4 separate regions of the Homo sapiens genome follow, and all the other regions are linked to region 1. The links are contacts of gene promoters, found by promoter capture Hi-C in human tissues and cell types (Jung and others, 2019). All regions are on one chromosome and are shown on one strand. The core of a region is centred on a gene start or on the middle of the fragment in contact, and the rest is flanking DNA. Distances in the headings are between cores, read along the strand shown. Region 1 holds the start of GGT7 (gamma-glutamyltransferase 7). Region 2 holds the start of CPNE1 (copine 1). Region 3 holds the start of ERGIC3 (ERGIC and golgi 3). Region 4 holds the start of CEP250 (centrosomal protein 250).

The links. The method cuts DNA at HindIII sites, captures the fragments that hold promoters and counts their contacts. A contact is called where the count stands out against the background at its distance.
Region 2: a contact is called between the fragment with the promoter of CPNE1 here and the fragment with the promoter of GGT7 in region 1, in 1 of the 25 tissues and cell types used here (dorsolateral prefrontal cortex).
Region 3: the fragment with the promoter of ERGIC3 here is called in contact with the fragment with the promoter of GGT7 in region 1 in 1 of the 25 tissues and cell types used here (mesenchymal stem cells).
Region 4: the fragment with the promoter of CEP250 here is called in contact with the fragment with the promoter of GGT7 in region 1 in 3 of the 25 tissues and cell types used here (aorta, dorsolateral prefrontal cortex and spleen).

What each region holds. Positions count from the first base shown.
Region 1 is chr20:34,871,309-34,874,627 of GRCh38, forward strand. GGT7 (gamma-glutamyltransferase 7) reads right to left here and starts at 1,548. Exons shown (of 15, transcript NM_178026.3): 1 at 1,339-1,548. The coding sequence starts at 1,507. RefSeq lists a silencer at 1,430-1,719. The HindIII fragment of the contact is 17,400 bases long and covers 1-3,319 here.
Region 2 is chr20:35,663,084-35,666,402 of GRCh38, forward strand. CPNE1 (copine 1) reads right to left here and starts at 1,817. Exons shown (of 16, transcript NM_152925.3): 1 at 1,677-1,817. RBM12 (RNA binding motif protein 12) reads right to left here and starts at 1,817. Exons shown (of 3, transcript NM_006047.6): 1 at 1,677-1,817. RefSeq lists enhancers at 526-645, 640-1,145, 986-1,035, 1,356-1,465, 1,650-2,154 and 1 more and a silencer at 1,384-1,678. The HindIII fragment of the contact is 6,796 bases long and covers 301-3,319 here.
Region 3 is chr20:35,540,301-35,543,619 of GRCh38, forward strand. ERGIC3 (ERGIC and golgi 3) reads left to right here and starts at 1,778. Exons shown (of 13, transcript NM_015966.3): 1 at 1,778-1,885; 2 at 2,023-2,093; 3 at 2,213-2,300; 4 at 2,522-2,641. The coding sequence starts at 1,798. RefSeq lists an enhancer at 1,450-1,539. The HindIII fragment of the contact is 35,337 bases long and covers 1-3,319 here.
Region 4 is chr20:35,454,038-35,457,356 of GRCh38, forward strand. CEP250 (centrosomal protein 250) reads left to right here and starts at 1,561. Exons shown (of 35, transcript NM_007186.6): 1 at 1,561-1,714. MIR1289-1 (microRNA 1289-1) reads right to left here and starts at 60; the gene lies at 1-60. It also overlaps a transcript of GDF5 not described here. RefSeq lists enhancers at 496-545, 806-955 and a silencer at 976-1,355. The HindIII fragment of the contact is 9,261 bases long and covers 1-3,319 here.

The DNA.
Region 1 (3,319 bases), core at 298-2,797:
AGGGTAGGTGTGCCTGTTGTCGCTTGGTGAGTCAGGGCTGTATTAGGACCAGAAGTCTCACTCCTGACTACTGAATAAAAGGCCTAGCTTCAGGCTGATATCCATCATGACACATCTTCCCACTCCTCTCCCTGCTACCTCCTGATTCCACTCCCTTTGGAAAATAAGTTTTGATCCGCAGCCCTGACATTTGACGCCCATAAACCTCTAAACTCCATCTTCATTATCTCCTCACCCCCACCCCATACAGAGTGCAGTCCAGTCAGGTTGGCAAGGGCTGCTGGTCAGGGCCAGATGACCAGAAAGTGTAGAGGAGGAGAGAATTTGGGGCTTTCAGGCTGGGAGCAGCTAGGGAAGGGCCAAGCCGGAAAAGCAGCATCTGCCAGGCTGGTAAGAGACAAGGCTCAAGTGCAGGCACTGCGAGGAAGCGAGAGTGAGGTAGAAGGATGCTCTAATGCCAGGAAGTGACGTGCAGGGACAGAGGGATGGGGGATGAAGGATGAAGAATGGAGGGGAGGATGAAGCTGGGCCACATGGCTAGGAGGAAGAGCAGCAGGGAAGGAATGCACAGAGAGCTCTTTGCCCCCAGGTCTCTTCCAATCCCTGTCTCCTCCTTCTCTTACCCCCACTTCTCACAATTCCAGCAGAGGGCTGAGGGGAACACAGTAAAATTCTGGAGACTGCTTCCTAGGGAGCAGAGTACCTTACTAATACCCCGGCCAGATCCATGGCTCAGGGAGGGGTGGGGTAATCCACAGGAGAGTGAAGGCGTTCTAGTCCCCAAGGACTTTTGAGAGGTCATGCAGTCCATGCCTCCGTCTCCCAACACCCAACAGAGGGGAATCATATTCTCTTTACCCCTCCCTAGACATGAAGAGATTCTCCGCTTCTCCCAGACCCTCTGCTTCTCACAATCCCTGGCTGTGGGGAACTTCTCTTAAGGCACAGATTGGATCCCTCTTGCTGCAGTCTCTGACTTGGTTTCTCCTATCCTGTCCTCTGTGGCTAGAGAAAGCCCTCTTCTGGGTGATCACAGCGGTTCCTTAGGATCTCCCCTTCAACATTCCTTCATCGTTAGTTGGTTCTTCCCAGAAGGTAAGCCCAATCCCTTCTACTGCAGTCCCTAGCATCCTCTCCGTTGTCGCATCCTACGCCTCCAAGGCAGAAATGCACCCCCTTCCTCACCAAATAATTAACAGAGACAAGGGAGAAGAAGGGAGAGATCCAAGAAGATGGGGATGAATTAAGGAGATGGAGCTGGAGGTGGATGCTTGACACAGAAGAAGGAAGACCGGGGACTTCCCAAGGCAGGGCAGGGACGGGGTCAGCGGGCCTCACCGGTGTCGGGGTCTCCCAGAAAGGCGTCCTCGTCCTTGCGGCCCCTCAGCGGGGCCGCGGGCGCCGGCTCGTCCTCGGGCAGCCGCGGGAAGCTGGTGATGCTCATGTAGTCCACTGGCGAGTAGGCGCCCAGGGCGCTCTCCTGGCTGGCCTCGTTCTCCGCCGCCATCCTCGCCCGCGCCCCCCAGCAGCGCAGCGCCTGCCGGAAGTGGCTGCGGCGGGGGAGTGGGAGGGCGGAGGGCGGGGCCTGATCTTCGCGACAGCCGGGAGGGGGCGCCTCTCCCAGCCCTCGGCCGTGTCCCGGTCTGACTCGCCCCCGTCTGCTCAGCGCTATCAGCCTGCAGCTGGCACACAGGTGCGTGTAGATGGACAGCCAGGAAGGCAGCGCAGGGTCGAGGGGAGAGCGCGGGGCAAGCGAGACTTCAGTGGCTCTGCACTTTACGCAGCTCAGGGACCAAACCCCTTCCTCCTTCCAGCCTGAATACAGCTAGTGTCCTCCTCAAATCCCAGGCTTCCTTTTCGGGCCCCAGACCCTTTCACTGACCGCAAATCCCTCTCGACCCCAGATCCTGTCTCTGACCCCAAACTCCTCGGACCCCAGACCCCTCCTTGAATTCCGAGATCCTCCTCCTCCGATTTTAGACTCCTCCTCCGACCTTAGACCTCTTTTTCGACTTCAGACTCTGTCTTCACCCCCAAACCCTTTTGAAAACCCCAGCCCATGCTTCATCTCCAGGCCTCTTTGACTGCAGACGCCTCTTTGGACAACAGATCCCTCCTCTGACCTCAGATCCCTTCCCGCACCCCGACACTTCTGACTCCTCTTTCAACCGCATTCTCAAACTTTAGTGTGTGTTAGGATCTTTGAAAGCGGATCCCCAGATTCCACTCCAGAGATCATGATTCAGTAGGCTGGGATGAGGTCCTTGGAACCTGAATATTTACCATCATTTTAAGAGTTTTTGATGTGGTTCTGGAAAGGACACTTTGAGAAAGAAGGAGTGGTGGTAGTGATGGTAGGGCAGGAGTGGGGCAAGGTGGGGAATAGGTCTCCATATTCTGGATGTCTGGGTTCTATTCTGCCACCGCTCAAACACTGTGTAATCTTGGGCAAGACAATTAGTCTCTCTATCAGTTTCCCCATCTGTGAAATGGAAAGAATAATAGTACCCATTTTAGAGGGTTGTCATGAGGATTAAGTAACAGAATGGAAAGCGATTAGTATAGGGCTTGGCACCTACTCAATAAATGGCATCATCATCATCATCATCATTGCCTTAATCTGGTAGATTCATTCCCTCCAAACTCATCCATCCTCTCTCCACTCCAAAATTCCAACCACACTACAGCTTGTACTACTTCTCCATATCCAAGGATGAGGGAGGTTCCTTCTTTTACGAGGTCTCTGTTCCAAACTTTCATTGTGAAGTCCACAGGAAGAGAGGGGGGCTGGTGAAGCCTCTATACACACATCCTTTCTCTTCCCAACCCCAGACCAGTCTCAGGGATGGCCTGAAGTGCTTGAAAAATCTACTATATACACAGCAGCTGCAGTAGCAACTATAGACAGGAGGGGGAAGCAGTGTGTCGGGAACAGCTCTGGGGTTTGGGTGTAGGACTTGGGAGAGAGGATAGGAAGGAGAGGGCTACTCAGAGCTGTGTGGTAAGAGTGCCCAGGGAGGGTAACAGTCTATCACCAAAAAGTGTACCCATTGTCTGTGCCTTTCCCCACCCCAGAGAGTTCTTATCTCCTCAGTGATGTTTGTAGGGTCTATTACACTACCCTGAGGTCTAATCCCTCTGGTGGGACCCTTCCCCACTTGATGAGGTCTGCACCTTCTCAGTGATGTCCACTCCCACAGTGTAGTTGGCAGCTCCTCACTGGAGTTTGAGTCCTCTGGTAGGGTCCACGTCTCCTTAGTAAAGTCTATATCCTCTGTATCTCTTAGGGGAAATCCATGTCTCCTCACTAGGGTAAGTG
Region 2 (3,319 bases), core at 567-3,066, 790 kb after region 1:
TTCTTCATAAATTACCATAACGTTATTTGAACCACCTGTAACAGTTCTTCCCAACTTTTTATACTCTTTGAAAATGTCTGCACACTTTCCACTAAATCCAGAAATCCTCCATTCTTATCAAAACTGCCAAATTTCAAAAACAAGTACAACCAGTCTTGTATTGTAGTTCTATAATTTAAAAAACAAGATTTCCCTATGTGTCCAGACTTGAGGGATTTTTCTCGACTGCAAATGCTCTGAGATGCATTAACAATATACACTAGTTAACAAGGTCCCAGACAATTCTTGTTGCTAAGACTGCATTTTGCAAAAATTACACCATTTCAAACCATTCAAGCAAGAAGCTCTAAAATACTGCAGTCACAAGCCTAGCCTCTCCCTTCAACAAACCTTCAGTTGCCATCACACTTTTTTCCAGTGGGTTATACTGACTCTATTATTGAATAATATAAAACGGTCCCTACCAACTTCTTCAATTTATATTAGGTTATCTCTGAGAATCCTGGAGCCAAGGAGGGTTTTAGGGCCCAGAAATCTCTTAAAGTCTGCAATTCTCAGCATGACACCACGCAGATGAGTAAATGTTTAGCACTTAATACTGAGTAACCCTCACAAGAGCCCCTCAGATTTGTCACTATAAAGCACACGTTGGAGGCACACAAAAAGCCCGTACGTTTACAACCTAGCAGCTAAGCCTGCTGCACTGGCGTCCAACCCCGTCACTAACCTGTAGATCCTCAAAGTCCCTCCCACCACCCAATTCACGTGGCTGCAAACTAATGCAGCCAAGCTTCAGAGAAACTCAATTAACTCTCCATCAAAAGCACCCACCCTCCGCAGCCCACTGGATCTCGTCCTCCTGAAATGCCACAGGATCCTCTCCCGAGGGAGCCGTAAATGTGCTGCTCACAGCAGCCCCTTCCCTACTGGGGGACCAAAGGCCTGGCATCTTACTACAATTCTCAGAGCCTCAGGAGGCGTACTCACCCCACCCCCTCACCTCCTAGCTTCAGACGCCGGCTTCTCAAAACTGCTACACCCTCGAGTAAAGCCCCTCCCCAGCAATGGACCTCGGAGGCATTTCACTGCAAACCCCTCCACCTTCAGGCCACGAAGGCGGCCGGTTGTGACACTTCCTTTCTGAACTCACAGGAGTGTACCGACTACAGCTTCCTCCCCACAGGTGTGACCTGGGTCCCCTTTTGCTGGTAGGCCACAAAGGCCTCCTTTCCATTTCGGGTTGAAGGAGTGTCCTCACTACGATTATCTCCCCACCTCCAGGCACAGAGATGTAGTTATAACCTCTGCTTCACTGGGGGAGACAAGAAATCCTCCGTACTCGGGATGTAGGCGTGTTTTTACTGCAGTCCCCGTTAGCTCGCAGGCCGCTGAGCCAGCCAGCTCTGGCCTGCCCCCTCTCAGACCACGGGGGAGTCCTCGCTATGGCCTCGTCCCCACTTCGGTACGCAGGCTCATCCTCTTGCGTCCTCCTTGCATCCTCTCAGATCTCAGAGGCCTAAGTGGCATCCCACTCCCCCTGCAGCCCTGCCTCGACCCTTTGTGTGGGGCGCTAGTTGCCGCGGGCTCGAAGGCCTCCGAAGGCCCCGCCCCGGGCCACCAAGGGGCACCACGAGCCCCGCACAGCCCCACCCGTTCAGGGGCTGCGGGAGTCTTACCGGGGAAAGCTGCGCGGCACCAGAACCCAGACCCCGAATTACCCCCCGCGCGAGTGCCTCCGCCCCGCGGCCGACAGCCCCAGCCCGAACGGCTTCCCGGAGCCCAACGCAGCCACCACCTCCTTCGCCGCTTCACAAAATGGCCGTCGGCCCGCTCAGCGGCTCCGCGTTCCAGAAGGGGGAGGAACGGCGTGGTTGACGTCAAGGGGCCGCGCAAGCGCGCTGACGGTCTCGGGCGATCTCCCGGAAGTTACTGGGTTTTGTGCTAAGAGGGGGATATTCAGTCCCTGCTTGCGACTGTTGGCGCACAGGACCGACCTTGGGCTAGTGGCCCTGGCGGGTGGGCTGGGTATGAGTGTCTAGCTTGGCCCTTCACTGCAAGACTGTGCAAATTGCTTCACGTCTTCCAGTTTCCGCGGAAGGAGCGAATTGTGCTTACCTCTAAGTTTTTTGAGGATTAAATGGACCACAACGTGGTGGCTAGTTATTATATCCTGACAAAACAGCCAAAACCTGATTCTTTTTTCCCATTTAAGAGTTTATACAGGCCGGGGGCCGGGCGCGGTGGCTCACGCCTGTAATCCCAGCACTTTGGGAGGCCGAGGCGGGCGGATCACGAGGTCGGGAGATCGAGACCATCCTGGCTAACACGGTGAAACCCCGTCTCTTCTAAAAAATACAAAAAATTAGCCGGGCGTGGTGGCGGGCACCTGTAGTCCCAGCTACTCGGGAGGCTGAGGCAGGAGAATAGCGTGAACCTGGGAGGCGGAGCTTGCAGTGAGCCGAGATTGCGCCACTGCACTCCGGCCTGGGCGAAAGAGCAAGACTCCATCTCAAAAAAAAAAAAAAAAAAAAAAAAAGTTTATACAGGCCGAGCGCGGTGGCTCACGCCTATAATCCCAGCACTTTGGGAGTCCGAGAAGGGCGGATCATGAGGTCAGGAGTTCGAGACCGGTCTGGCCAACAAGGCAAAACCCAGCCTCTACTAAAAATACAAAAACTAGCTGGGTGTGGTGGCGGTGCTTGTGGTCCCAGCTACTTGGGAGGCTGAGGCAGGAGAATCGCTTGAACCCGGGAGGTGGAGGTTGCAGTGAGCCCAGATGGCGCCATTGCACTCCACCCTGGATGACAAAAGCGAAACTTCGTCTCAGAAAAAAAAACAAAAAAAGAGTTTTAATCTAGGGCAGGGCGCAGTGGCTCACGCCTGTAATCCCAGCATTTTGGGAAGCCGAGGCGGGCGGATTACCTGAGGTCAGGGGTTCAAGACCAGCATGGCCAACATGGCGAAACCTCGTCTCTACTAAAAATACAAACATTAGCTGGGCGTGCTGGCTGGCGCCTGTGGTCCCAGCTACCAGGGTGGCTGAGGCAGGAGAATCGCCTGAATCCGGGAGGTGGCGGTTACAGTGAGCCAAGATAACGCCATAGCACTCCAGCCTAGGCGACAGAGCAAGATTCCGTCTCAAAAAAAAAAAAAAAATTAAATCCATCGTGACCCCTCCACGGCTTCACTATAGTATTATTTTATTATAGAAAAAGCTATTCTCTGGCTGGGCGTGGTGGCTTACGCCTGTAATCCCAGCACTTTGGGAAGCCGAGGTGGGAGGATCACGAGGTCAGGGGATGGAGACCATCAGGAGAGC
Region 3 (3,319 bases), core at 528-3,027, 670 kb after region 1:
GAGACTATAGACGCATGCCACCACACCTGGCTAATTTTTTTATTTTTATTTTTATTTTTGGAGACAGAATCTCACTCTGTCGCCCAGGCTGGAATGCAATGGCATGATCTCGGCTCACTGCAACCTCCGCCTCCCAGGTTCAAGCGATTCTCCTGCCTCGGACTCACAAGTAGCTGGGTTTACAGGAGCACACTACCACGCCTGGCTAATTTTTGTATTTTTAGTAGAGATGGGGTTTCACCATGTTGACCAGGCTGGTCTCAAACTCCTGAACTCAAGTGATGCTTCCTGGCTCGGCCTCCTGAAGTGCTAGGGTTACAGATGTAGTTTTTAAAGTTTTTGTAGAGTGGGGTCTTGCTGTGTTGCCCAGGCTGGTCTTAGACTCCTGGCCTCATGTGATCCTCCTCGGTCTCCCAAAGTGCTGTGATTACAGGTGTGAGCCATTGTGCCCAGCCCAATTTTTAATTAAAAAATGGAATGATGGAATGCACATTACTTTGCATCTTTTCCCCCTTAAAAATACATTCTTAGTATACCTAAAGGAGTAAATCTACCTCATTCTTTTGAAAAGTGGCCTAATATTCCATAGAATGGGTGTATCGTGATTTATTCAATTTATTTAATGTATCAGTGGGCATTCTGGCTGGTTCCAGATTTTTGCCATTGAACAATCTCATGCATACATCTTTATGATGTGGTGCACTTAAAATCTTTAAGAGACAGATTCAATATCTTAAGGTGTAACAACCACCCAGATCATGGTACTTTTATCCTTATATTAAAATTTTTTTCTGTTAACCTTGGATAGCTGCTTACATATTTTTTCTTTTTCAAAATTTTTCTATTAACCTTGACATGGTGCTTTTACTTCCTAAAGTGGAATTCCTGTATGAAAGCCTATGAGCTTTTATATCTTACTCATTGCAGCTGCATTACTGTGGGAGCTGTCCCTCTAGAGACACTGGGCTGCAATGGGAAGTGTCAGGGAGAGCTTAAGCTCCATATCACTTGAGTCTAAACCTGGAGGGATAGAGCGTGTCCGTGAGGATCCCAGGGCCTGGAGAGCAATTTAGGGTAATATTCAGAAAGCAGCGCTCAGGAGAAGCACTGGGACGCTGTTTAGGTAAAATCAACCCAAAAGACCCTGATTCCCAGAGTACTTTGAGGTCCAGAAGAACTGGGCTGGAAGCAGGTCCTGCTATTAATTGGCTGTGATCTTGGGCAAGTTATTTAACTTCTCCAGGTCACAGTTTGCTCTTTGGAAAACGGAGATAAGTCACACCTGCTTTCAGGGCGGACACCCTTACTTTACATCAGAATCATCCGATGCCATTCCTAGCGTTTCGGCTTCAGTAGGTGGGAATCAATTATTTGCATTTCTAATAGGTAATCAGTTGATAATGATGCGGCCGGTCCGGTACACTCGAAAAACCACTGTTCCAGGATATTCCAAGATGTTCCAAGAGTCTTAAACACCTGGTGCAGTTCCGAGCACAAGGCACACGAACGGTGCTATTAGCGTTTCTAACCCCGCAGAGAACTCCTCGCACCCCAGTCCTCAAAATCCCGCCCCGGACAGCGGAGGCCGGGGCAGTAGCTTCCAGACCCAATTGCCCGCGCAAGGGGGCGTGGCAGCATCGTTGGGCGGGGCCGCCTGTAAGAGAACGCGGCTAAAGGTGGGGCCAAGCGTGCGGTTTGCTGCGCCTGCGTGAGGAAAAAGAGGGGGGCGTGGCTCCAGGCCGGAAGAGGGAGTCTGTAGGGGCGGGCCGGCTGGCGTCCCCTTTCCGGCCGGTCCCCATGGAGGCGCTGGGGAAGCTGAAGCAGTTCGATGCCTACCCCAAGACTTTGGAGGACTTCCGGGTCAAGACCTGCGGGGGCGCCACCGGTAGGCCGCAGCGGGGCCGGGGTCGCGTGGAGGGGGGCGTCCTAGAGCTTAGCCCGGGCTCCTGGACTCTGACTGGCCTGCCGGTGTCTGAGGGAGCGGATTCGAGGCCATTCTGACCCTCGCCCCTTGTCCTGCAGTGACCATTGTCAGTGGCCTTCTCATGCTGCTACTGTTCCTGTCCGAGCTGCAGTATTACCTCACCACGGAGGTAAGGGGCGGGGCTTAGTGCGTGGGCGGGGCTTGGCATTCTAGGAGTAGGACCTTTAGGGGTGGGAGTGGGGAAGGAGAGGTTTGGGGCTAAGTCTTACTGAGGTAGCGCTGCCCCAGGTGCATCCTGAGCTCTACGTGGACAAGTCGCGGGGAGATAAACTGAAGATCAACATCGATGTACTTTTTCCGCACATGCCTTGTGCCTGTGAGTACCTCACCATGGGTGGGACTGGAGAGACCCAGGGTTCTCATGTGGGCTGCCAGATTCACACCTCCACCCTTAGGTTCTGGACTGGACCCCAGGACAACCTCCTTCTCCTCATCCCGTTCTGCCCCAAGACAGGCCCAGTATCCCCTTCCCCTCCAAAACCCACATCCCCTTGTCCCTAGGGTCCCAGTACCTTAGCCTGATTTTCCTGCTTCCAGATCTGAGTATTGATGCCATGGATGTGGCCGGAGAACAGCAGCTGGATGTGGAACACAACCTGTTCAAGCAACGACTAGATAAAGATGGCATCCCCGTGAGCTCAGAGGCTGAGCGGCATGGTAACCAGGGGAGGGGGCCGGGTCTCAGATCCCAAAGCTGGATGTACCCAAGCCTATCTGCTAGCAAGTGAACTGTGGCAGGCATAGTGATACATTAAACAACTAAGAGCTAGAGAAGTCAAGTGACTTGCCTAGGGTCCCCCAGCTAGTAAGAGTCAGAGTGAGCTAAAATCCTCTATACATATCGAGTCAGGTAATCTACCTGGCTATTATTCTCAGAGGTCCTCAATACCTGCAGATGGTAGTTTGAATACCAGAGGTTTGAAGATAGGTCTTATGTGCTCTTGCCTTGGTAGAACTGTCTAGATGGACCCAGGCTTCTTTGAGTGTTTGCTTTCCCAGCCCATTGGCTTAATTCAGCCCTTAATGCTCTTCCCCTTTGGAATGCAGGTGGTTTAATGAGAATTTAGGTTCTCAAGTCAGATTGCCTGGGTTCACATCTAGCTTTGTCTCCTGCAGTCTGTGAGCTTCAGCTAGAAAGTGGTAATAAAACAGTAGTACCAACCACATGGAATTGTAAGATCAAATGAAGTCATATGTGTAAAATGCCTGGTACAGAGTGGGTACCCACTTTTACCTTCCTTTCCTTTATCTTGGTGGCTTCCCAATTCCCTTCGTTAACTCAGTTTCCCACCACAGCAAACTGTCCTCAAAGCTGGGATTTCTAACACCTTAGAG
Region 4 (3,319 bases), core at 311-2,810, 580 kb after region 1:
GTGGAAACCAAGAGTCTGCATTTACCAGTTTTGTTTTTAATTCCTACTAAAAATTGAGAACCACTGAGTGCAAGAGTGAGGCAGGTAAATGGAGTTTACAACTCTAAGAAAGTGCATTAACAATTTATACACAAGGCCGGGCGCGGTGGCTCACGCCTGTAATCCCAGCCCTTTGGGAGGCCGAGGCGGGAGGATCACGAGGTCAAGAGAGATCGAGACCATCCTGGCCAACATGGTGAAATCCTGTCTCTACTAAAAATACAAAAATTAGCCGGGCGTGGTGGCGGGCGCCTGTAGTCCCAGCTACTCGGGAGGCTGAGGCAGGAGAATTACTTGAACCTGGGAGGCAGAGGTTGCAGTGAGCCGAGATCGTGCCAATGCACTCCAGCCTGGCGACAGAGCAAGACTCCATTTCAAAAAAAAAAAAAAAAATTTATACACAAAATGCTACAGGAATAACGCATGGGTCCTATTGGGAAGAAAAAGTTCTCTAGAAGTCAGGCTTAAGCAGAACTGCAGCTCCGGGACGGATTAAGTCAGGTAAAGGTAACACTCTGTGCAGAGACATGCAGACAAAACCGAGTGTTGAGTAAGTAACTCGCCTGTAAGTGTTATGCTGCCTGAAGCTTCTCGGAGCGTCTGAGCAGCAAGGTGAACAACCCTCAGAAACCGGTCGCGCTGCCAGTATTATCGCTAACCAGTGGCAGCGAGCCCCTTTGTTTCTCGGCAGTTGTAATTGTAGTCTGGTTTGTAGGTGGAGCTGTGCGCAGGCGCACCTAGAACCAGGTGACCTTGCACATGCGCTGTATGTAACACTGAAGCCAAAAGCGAAATGATTGAGGGCAATTTTTCTTTTCTGCTTCCGAAATGTCCCTTTCGCGAATCCAGAGACCCTGACCGTCCCCATTTCTGGCTAGGGATCTTATAATTCTTAAAATAATACCCCCTTTCCTTCAGGGCCTCTCTAGTAAGTCGGCTGCCAATACCCAACATGGCGGGAGGCCCTGCGCCGGCTCAGTCTGCCTATAGGTGCAGGACTTGGAGGGGCGGGCCCCTCCCAAAGGGCGGGAGTTTGGGGGGGCGGGGCCTGGCCCTCTGCCTCGGGGTGGGCTCCGCCCCCGTCCCCCGCAGGGCCTTAGCAGCGGCTGCCGCAGCTCAATCGCGGAGCAACTAGCCGGGCGTCTGCGGGAGCCGAGCGTGGTGAGGTGGGGCCTCAGGGGCAGGTGGGAGGTGCTCGGGTTAACCGTCCGAGGCCCGGAGACCCGCCCGTCTAGGGCGCCTGAGGGAATCCCGTTCGGGCAGCGGCCTCTTGTTACCCGGGAGGAACCCGAGGCCCAGAGAGGGGCTGGGACGCGTCGTTAGGGCCCGGGGCCCGCTTGCCTCAGCTTCTTGCTGCCGCCAGCACGCTAAGCTCCAGTCGGCGCCGAAGGAGAGCTTCCCGACCCTCGTGTCCAGTAGCCGCAATCCCAGGCTGGGAGGGTGAGGCGCCGCGCTCTGCCGCCCCCCCGCCCCTCGCTCCCTGTGTCCTGGCGGATTTGCACGTAATCTATCCGAAAGCCCAGTCCCACCCGCCACCCGACTCTGGAGCTCCCATTCTTCAGGACCCTGCTGAAGTATCGCTTCTCAGCCGCCTTCTCCAGGCGCAGCTGCATTCGCTTCTCGGTTTTTGCACTCGCTGTGCACCGAGTTACTTTCCCGGCCCCTCGTTGACACCGTAAGCTCGTTCGTTAGATGTTATGCCTTGCCTTTTTCATCTCTAGATCCCAGGGCCTAGCACGTGATGATAATAGTCATGGCTTACTGTACGGAATGATCACAAATTGTCAGGTGCTACTGAATGCATTACACATAAGGGCCCATTTATTTATTTATTTAGAGACGGAGTTTCGCGCTTGTTGCCCAGGCTGGAGTGCAATGGCGCGATCTCGGCTCACCTCAACCTCCGCCTCCCGGGTTCAAGCGATTCTCCTGCCTCAGCCTCCCAAGTAGCTGGGATTGCAGGCATGCGCCACCACACCCGGCTAATTTTATGTTTTTAGTAGAGACGGGGTTTCTCCATGTTGGTCAGGCTGATCTCGAACTCCCGACCTCAGGTGATCCGCCCGCTTCGGCCTCCCAAAGTGCTGGGATTACAGGCGTGAGCCACCGCGCTCAGCCAAAGGCCTATTTAATCTTCCCAACAATCCTATGGGGTGAGTTCTTTCTATAGCTTCACGTTTTACCCATGAAGAAACTGAGGTATTCATAGAAAAAGTAATTTGCCAGGAGTCCCACAACTAATAAGTGGATGGAGCTGGGAAACTGTCCCCAGGGCATTTGATGACTTGACTAGATTGCCTTTGGGTTTAATCAACGTCTGTTGAATTGATCTTTACTTTGGCCCTGGGAGTTATTGGAGGCTAGGCTTGTGATCAGTATTTTACCGCGAAGGCTTAGAAAGGAGAACTGGTCCCAGATTTATAGAGGTCACAACAAAACCAAGGCTACTGGTACGCCCTCTGTTCCTTTAGTTCTTCTATCTTTCTTTGCTCCTTTTCGATCAGAAAGCTGCAGACATAGGTGTCATTATCGCTCACTATTTAAGAAGTGCCCCTCACAGAGCTGTGAGTTCGTAGTCCATGCTTTAACTAATGTAATGTTCATGCTTTAACAGCTAATGTAATGGAGAGAGTGTAGAATTTGGAATCAGATTGGGGTTCAGTCATTGCTCTGCCACTGACCAAGCTATAAGTTATATGCCTCCCCCCACTTTTTTTTTTTTTTTTGAGACCTGGTCTCAGTCACCCAGGCTGGAGTGCAGTGGTGCGATCTGGGTTCACTGGAACATCCTGTCTCCCAGGTTCAGGCGATTCTCCCGCCTCAGCCTCCTGAGTAGCTGGGATTACAGGCGCCCGCCACCGTGCCTGGCTAATTTTTGTATTTCTAGGAGAGATGGGGTTTTGCCATGTTGGCCAAGCTGGTCTCGAACTCCTGGCCTCAAATGATCTGCCCAACTCAGCCTCCCAAAGTGCTGGGATTACAGTTGTGAGCCACCACACCCAGCCTGTTTTTTTGCTTTTTATATAGGTAATAGAGCTGTTAGCATTTTGCAAGACCATTGGTGATAATATGGATCATGTTACCTAATGTCCTATAATAGTCAGTAATAATGGGCACTTGTTATAAACCAGGCTGTGTTTTAGGTAGGAGCTGGGAATACAGCATTCGATAAAACAATGCTTTTGCACTTGTGGAATTTGCATTTTGGTAAGTATATTACATAATAATTAGATAGGGACAGAAAAAGCATGGTAAGGTAAATAAAAGTACTAGTGTTATG